2 separate regions of the Homo sapiens genome follow, and region 2 is linked to region 1. The links are contacts of gene promoters, found by promoter capture Hi-C in blood cells and fetal thymus (Javierre and others, 2016). All regions are on one chromosome and are shown on one strand. Each heading gives the region's core, a stretch centred on a gene start or on the middle of the fragment in contact. The rest is flanking DNA. Distances are from core to core; before and after follow the strand shown.

The links. The method cuts DNA at HindIII sites, captures the fragments that hold promoters and counts their contacts. A CHiCAGO score of 5 or more calls a contact.
Region 2: a fragment that was not itself captured here is called in contact with the fragment with the promoter of ERBB3 in region 1 in 1 of 17 cell types (naive CD8 T cells); the score reaches 5.2 in naive CD8 T cells.

The regions. Positions count from the first base shown.
Region 1 is chr12:56,078,534-56,082,515 of GRCh38, reverse strand. It overlaps ERBB3 (erb-b2 receptor tyrosine kinase 3), which reads right to left and starts at 2,351. Exons shown (of 28, transcript NM_001982.4): 1 at 2,134-2,351. The coding sequence starts at 2,215. RefSeq lists an enhancer at 1,704-2,694. The HindIII fragment of the contact is 9,077 bases long and covers 245-3,982 here.
Region 2 is chr12:56,457,549-56,461,530 of GRCh38, reverse strand. No RefSeq gene overlaps it. Among named protein-coding and RNA genes, the nearest start is that of MIP, 4.9 kb to the right of the region's middle. The HindIII fragment of the contact is 596 bases long and covers 1,551-2,146 here.

The DNA.
Region 1 (3,982 bases), core at 1,102-3,601:
CCCTAGTCTGACTTCTTGACCTTGGAGGGCTCCTTATCACTCCCCATGAAGGTTGGCTAGTCCCAGCAAAGAGAGCTAGTTCCAGAGGAGCTGGGAACTCCAGGGTCCTTGGGTTGAAATGAAAGAGACTAGGAAGGTTAGTCATTTCTGGAACAGCCCCACCCCAATCCCCTTCCTGGCAGGATACCCCCTTTCCCAAGTTATAGTGCCAACACTTCTCCCCAGATAAGGGAGGAGCCAAGCTTTCTGCACAGGGAAGTAGTAGTGTGGGCACACACATACACACACAATGTACACACGAACACGTACACATTGGTCCTGCTGGCTCAGGAATCTATAGTTGGGTTTCCTTGCAGGAAGTATTTCAGGTGGCCCCATCTATCCCACGTGCCCATAAGTGTTTGTGCAGACTTTGTGTCTGTGCTTGGAAGGCTACAGTGTTAGAGGTAGCCCAGTTCCCTGCTACCCTGAGGGTAAAGTCCATATTACACAAACAGGGGGCAAAGGGCCTGGGCAGGAAGGGAGCACAAACAACACCTCTGGGGAGGAGCTAGGCAGCTTGGGGAGCAGGGCAGGGGAAGGGAATCATAAAAATCCCTGCTGTACCCAGGAACCGGGAGCATAGGGAGGGGCAGTGTCACAGGCCCTCCTTTGGTAGAGAGCACTAGGGGTGGGATAGAGCCAGAATCTCCAGCCCCTCCTCAACCAGAGGCCTCCCCTCCAACATCCCCCACCCCCATCACAGCCAGGACAAAGGGGCTATAGAAGGACTGAGACAGGGCCGGATGCCCAGAGGCTGCAGGACCCAGATAAAGGGTAAAGAGACCCAACCATGCCTGCCTCCTGCCTCCCCAGGGAGGGTGGCCAGACTCTGGTACTCCTGGGTTTCTGGGTGAAGATTGCAGGAGTCTGGATGGGACAGTTATACAGTCACTCCACTGCTCCCTCCCACGCCAGTCCCCAGACCACCCCCCTCCACCAGCTGGGAGTGTTCACATCTAAAAATCCCAGGATCTAAATTTAGGCCCAGCAACTGTGAGGGAAGCACAGGTGGTTTCTTCCACTCCCACACTGGGGAAGGGGCCCTGGCTGTGCCAAACCCCAAGCTGAGATCTGAGGGGAGGGGAGGAGATCCACAGAACTTCAGTCCTCAGGTGTCCACGGTCCCAGAGACACCCCAAAGGGGTGGGCTCAGATAGCATGGGAGTCGGGGGAGGACTGGAGAAGAGCAATCCGGGGCTCTGTCTAGGGTCCTAGAGACAGTGTCAGACAATAAGCAAAATGGGGGCGGGAGGCACAAGCTGAGCCCAGGAAGGACTCCCCAAGGCAGGAGGCTTAGAAAGTAGCAGAGGTGCCCTCTTGATCCTCAGGTTGGGGAGAGAAAAGACCAGAGGCTGGACATCCTTGCCCTTACAGCTCCTGGCCCAGGGCCTTGTGTATAGTAGATGCTCAATAAATATGAGTTGTGTTGACCTGGGTCTTGACAAAGAGATGTTGCTTAAGCTCTGCTATACTGAGGAAAGGGGGCGCCAGCCTCTGTTGGGCCTCCTGCCTGATGTCACCTGAACTTGGCCCTCTGGTTAATCTCAGACCTCCCCAGGGCAGGCTCACTCACGGAAGAGGAGGTGCCGCTCCTGTTTTTCCAACACCAGAGAACAACAACCCCCTCCAACCTTCTGTAGCTCCGCCCTGTCGGCAAAACAACGAAACTAGGGGTAGCTGAAATCGGCGCGGGTGGGGGGCAGGGGGTTGGCGAGCAAACCGAGACCCTTCCCGCCAAGGCCCCCACCTCCAAGCACCTCCTGTTTACAGAATGAAGTTCCCTGCTCCCCTCCCTGCAGGGCCCCTCAGAAGTGTGAACTACTGTTTCGGCCTCAGCCTCTTCTGGGGAGACCAATTAGAGGGTCGGCGACGCTCTGGAGAAGGGTGGCGTGAGGGTCCCGGAATGCCGCCCTCGGCCGGACCACGCCGATAACCCGAGCCTGACCGCCCCTCTCCCAGGTGGTCCTGGCAAACCGGGGGCAGCACCCACAACCCCGCGCCGCCTGAGACCGTGCCCATACCCTCCGAGGCTGCGCGCACTGGGTTCCGGCTCCCAGGTGCCGAGCCCGCCGGTGCTCTCGCGCCACTTACCTGCCTGAGAGTTGCCCACCTCGGAGCCCCGGGCCAGGCTGAAAAGCAAGCCCAGCACCTGCAGAGCGTCGTTCGCCCTCATGACTCCGCAGAGGGTGAAGGGAGCCCAGCCAAGTCCGGCCCGGGGGCCCCTAGGCTAGGACATCGAGGCAAGAGCCACCTGAACCGCTGGCGAATTGGTGGCTGCTGCGGCGACGGCAGCGGAGGTTGCAAATTGCAATCGGAGCCGGAGCCGGAGTCCGGGGAGGGATGGCAGGGGAGGGGTGTGTGTGTGTGAGAGAGAGAGAGAGAGGGAGGGAGGAACGCAGAGGGAAGGGGGTGAGTCACGGCCGCGCCCCCTCCCGCGCGAGGCTGGAGTAGGGATTGCGGAGCCTCGGACCGCCTGCCCCGAGCGTGCCACGCCCCGCGGTCCCGCAACTTGGCGGAGCAGATCGAGGATGGGGCTCACCCTAATTTTTCTGCAGGAGATAGGCCAAGGGGAGGTCGAGATTCCGAAAGCCCCCAGATCCAGGGAAGGGTAATGAATGAGGGAGTGGAAAGCTCTCCAAAGCCCTGCCCCCTGAAAGTTGGCCTCGCCCATTAACCAAATCACTCAACTCCCCTAGCCGGTTGGTTCACTTGGTGGATTTTCTCTCAGAATGTGAATATTTCTCTCTGTGTGTTTTTGAGGGGGAGGGTGTTTTTTGCCTCACGTCCAGGCCACCTCAGTTTCTCCCAGACTCGAAACCCCATAATTCATCCACCCAGCCCAGGAACCCGAGCCACAGAGACCGCGTGAAATTGCACTGTCTCTGGCCGCTTCCTCCTCCAGACCCGGCGCCGGCCGGGCCTCTCCCGGGGATTTGGATGGGGGGCGGGGGTGGTTTCCAGCCTGGGAACAGACCCCGGAGCCCGCCTTTCCACTTCTACCCCGGGAGGGGCTCCCGCACCTGTCGCCGTCCCCTCTGCTGCCCCCCACGGCCGCCTGGGAGAACAGCTGCCTCCCCTTCCACACTGGAGTCTGGCCGCACCGTCCGGGCGGCCGCAGTTCCCGCCGCTCTTCTGGGGACCCAGATGGGCACACACCAAGGCGCTTACACCCTCCCAGGTGCCTTCCAAGTCCAGGCTCTCGCAGGAAAGGGGATGGGGCAGTGAAGTGGGACGCGGAGAGGACACTAGAGACTGCGTCCACGAATGGCGTGGACCTCTGGAACCTCCCCCACCAGCTGCCCGGACCTGGCCAGAGGCGGTCGGGCTCCCTGCGGGTTGCTGCCCAAAGCCCTGCTAGTCCCGGGACGGATCCGACCGGCGCCGCCTGGTGCCCATCCGTGGCAGTGGAGTCCCAGACGGCCTTGCATTTCAAATCCCTTAAACTGGTATTCGGGATCTCGCCCGGAGAGCCTAGTTGTTTTCTCCAGAACTTCAAGCCTGAAGACTTCGAAAACAGTTGAGCCTTGATAAAGAAAAATTTCACCCCTCACACCTAGCAAAGACTACCGGCTAACATTCCTTAAACATGCTCCCTATTGATATGCAACCTAGAGGGCCTGTTCTCTACTGGAGAATCTCCGCTTTGGGGAGGTTGGCTTTCTCCAGACCATGTGTATAGTAGTCATAATAATAATAGCAACAACAAAACCATTAACATATACAAACATTTCCATATATCATTTCATTTACAAAGTATGTCCTCAAACTTAGTGCCTTAGAGAATGTGTCACTTAACATAAAAATTATATGATTTAGGCAATATAACTCCCCATTTTACAGAACTAGAAGTGTGTGACCTCTCCAAGGTCATCCACCTGGTGACAGTGGTTGAGGTGATCAGGTGATTGGGAGGTGGGGCTCAGACTTTTACCTAGGGTTT
Region 2 (3,982 bases), core at 599-3,098, 380 kb before region 1:
GAACTCCTGACAAGGTAGTCCTCCTGCCTTGGCCTCCCAAAGTGTTGAGGTTACAGGCACGAGCCACCACACCTGTCCAGCGTAGATCGTTTATGGAACTCAAACCTGATATATTCTTCAGGTCCTGATAATATGAGCTGGCTAGGGAGTAGCTGCAGTAAGATGGTGAGTCAGTCCTGGACATCCTTAGAGGTGACTATGGTAATCACATGGGACCCACTGTGGAGGAACACAGCAAGAAAAATAGCTCTGCCTGCAGATTTCCTAAGCTATATAGACCCACTTGCTCTCTATTACTATGGATTATGGTTGTATAGCACTCTCTGGGACTAAGCAATGGAGCCTTCCTTATTGAAGTGGGGAGTAAGCTAGGATCACTGTCACTGTCCTAAAGTTTGAAAGACTGATCATTAGTAATCAAGAGCTAACTCAGTTAAGTATAGAGACAAATGAGAATTCAGGGTGATTACTGCTAGGAGCCATTAAGATTTATAATAACTTTGTAATTACTCAAATTTGTTATTTTACAAATCCTTTCTCCATTTTCATAGTCCCTGTTGGAAAAAACTTCAAAAACATTTGTATACTTACTTAATGCCAGAAGAAAAGAAAGGTGGAGAATCTATAGCTAAAAACATTTTGCAACCCCTGAAAAGAACCCCAAATACAAGAATGAAGTAGAATAATAGCAAAGGGGGGAACAAGTGAACAAGAAAAAAAGAGGAAGATGAACTGGAGTGTGTCCTGGCATCACCCGGGAGGGTTAGACCCCAGAAATCCCCTTATTCCTAGGCAATTCTCCAAAGTCACCTTCCTTGGCAGATTTCTTTTCTTTTGTTTTTGTTTTTATTTTGTTTTGTTTTTTAAGACAGAGTCTCACTCTGTGGTCCAGGCTGGAGTGCAGTAGTGCAATCATGGCCCACTGCAGCCTCAACCTCCACAGGCTCAGTGAACCACGCTAAGGCCTGGTTATTTTATGGTGTTGTTTTGAGACAGGGTTTCACTCTGTTGCCCAGGCTGGAGTGCAGTGGCACCATCACAGCTCACCGCCTCAGCCTTCCAAGTAACTGGGACCACAGGTGCATCCCACTTCTGAAGGGAGACACAGCCTTTTTTTGTTTTTTGTTTTTTGTTTTGAGATGAAGTCTTGCTCTGTCGCCCAAGCTAGAGTGCAGTGGTGCAATCTCGGCTCACTGCAAGCTCCGCCTCCCTGGTTCACGCCATTCTCCTGCCTCAGCCTACCGAGGAGCTGGGACTACAGGCGCCTGCCACCACGCCCGGCTAATTTTTTGTATTTTTAGTAGAGACGGGGTTTCACCGTGTTAGCCAGGATGGTCTCGATCTCCTGACCTCGTGATCCGCTCGCCTCGGCCTCCCAAGGGCTGGTATTACAGGCGTGAGCCACTGCGCCTGGATTGTATTTGTTTTTTGTTGTTTTTTTGTTAAAAAGGCTAGGCTAAGGCTGGGTGAGGTGCCTCACGCCTGTAATCCCAGCACTTTGGGAGGCCAAGGCAGGCAGATTGCTTGAGCCCAAGAGTTCAAGATAAGCTTGGGTCACACGGCAAAACCCCATCTCTACAAAAAATACAAACATTAGCTAGGTGTGATGGTGCATGCCTGTAGTCCCAGCTATTTGGGAGGCTGAGGTGGTGGGAGGATTGTTTGAGCCTGGGAGATTGCGTCACTACACCCCAGCCTGGAGTCTCACCTTTTTTGAGACAGAGCAAGACCCCGTCTCAAAAAAAAAAAAAAAAAAAAAAAAAAAAAAGGCCAGGTTCTATGGTTATGCTTGTAATCCCAGCACTTTGGGAGGCTGAGGTGGTAGAATCGGTAGGTTGGCTTGAAGCCAGGAGTTTGAGACCAGCCTGGGCAACGCAGTAACACCTCATCTCTACAAAAAATTTTTAAATAAGCTGGGTGCAGTGGCACGTGCCTGTAGTCTCAGCTACTCAGGGGGCTTAGGTGGGAGGATTGCATGAGCCCAGAAGTTTAAGACTGCAATGACCTTTGATAGCGCCACTGCACTCCAGCCTGGGCAACACAGTGAGACTATGTCTGTAAAAAAAATAAAAATAAAAGGCTAGGCTAGTAGAAAACAATAAGCATACTAATTGTATGTAAATCTATGCAAAAACTCAAGTAAGCTTTTAAGAGTTCATCTCTAGTTAGGTTTGAAAGAGGCTGGCATTTATCTAAGTGGGGAGACTGATGTCAAAGGAAATGGGCCGAGGTTTAGTTCTCCATGGAATTCTTGTCAATGTTTGATGAAGAATAGAGGCAAGAGGATGGTAGCTGCAGATAAGGAAAGCTAGCCATTTTATTTGTCGTCTATAAGAGATTGAATTAACTGCCCTTTGCTGTTCCATCTCTTATTATAAGAGGCTACAGGATTAGTGGGTAGAGATAACCCATTCCTGTTAATAAAACCCCATTGAGTGGCTTCTGTTTACTTTTTAAATTTTTTAATTATAATTTTTTTTTTTGAGACGGAGTCTCACTCTGTCTCCCAGGCTGGAGTGCAGTGGTGTGATCTCAGCTCACCACAGCCTCCACTTCCTGGGTTCAAGTGATTCTCTTGCCTCAGCCTCCCAAGTAGCTGGGATGACAGGTGAACACCATGACGCCTGGCTAATTTTTTTGTGTATTTTTAGTAGAGATGGGGTTTTGCCATGTTGGCTAGGCTGGTCTTGAATTCCCAACCTCAGATGATCCGCCCACCTCAGCTTCCCAAAGTGCTGGGATTACAGGTGTAAGCCACCGCACCCAGCCAAATTTTCAATTTTTTTTGAGACAGGGCCTGACTCTGTCACCAAGGCTGGAGTGCAGTGGTGCCATCTCAGTCCACTGCAACCTCTACCTCCCAGGCTCAAGTCATCCTCCCACCTCAGCCTCCCCAGTAGCTGGGACTACAGGTGTGTGCCATTGTGCCTGGCTAATTTTTGTATTTTTTGTACAGGAGGGGTTTTGCCATATTGCCCACGCTGCTCTCTGACTCCTGAGCTCAAACGATCCTCCTACCTCAGCCTCCTGATTTGCTGGGACTACAGGTGCAGGTAGCTCCTGTTTTTAAGTGCTTTATTCTGTGCCAGACACTGTACTAGTCTCTTTACCTACATTATCTTATTTGATACAGAGGAAACTGAGACTCAGAAAGCTTATGCTAATCTGGCCAGGTGCAGTGACTCAGGCTTGTAATCCCAGCACTTTGGGAAGCCTCGGCAGGCGGATCACTTGAGGCCAGGAGTTCGAGATCAGCCTGGCCAACGTGGTGAAACCCTGTCTCTACTAAAAATACAAAAATTAGACAGGTGTGGTGGCGTGCACCTGTAATGCCAGCTATTTGGGAGGCTTGAACCCAGGAGGTGGAGGTTGCAGTGAGCTGAGATGGCACCACTGCACTCCAGAGTGAGAGACTCTGTCTCAAAAAAAAAAAAAAAAAAGCAAGCAAGCTTATGCTAATCTAATCTATTCGGCAAATATTTATTTACTGCCTTCTGTGTGTTAAGCACCAGGTTCGCACTGGTGAAAAATCAGACATGGGCCCTGCCCTCCTGGAACCTATATATAGCGGGGATAACTTGCCCAACTAGAAAGTGGTAAAGCATATATTGTTGTCACTGCTGTTTTTAATTAATTTGGGGTACACAGAATATTTTGTTGTTCATGATATCCTCTCCTCATTGGCCTATATATATGGCTCCCACTTATTTGTTTTTAATAATGATAATTAAGCATCATTTCTAACCATCCATCCAATAGAAAAACTAGAACCTTGACAATTACTATTATTTTATTTTATTTTATTTTATTTTTGAGACTGAGTTTCGCTCTTGTTGCCCAGGCTGGAGTGCAGTGGCACAATCTTGGCTCACTGCAACCTCCACCTCCCGGGTTCAAGCGATTCTCCTGTCTCAGCCTCCCGAGTAGCTGGGATTACAGGCACCCACCACCATGCCCGACTAATTATTGTATTTTTAGTAGA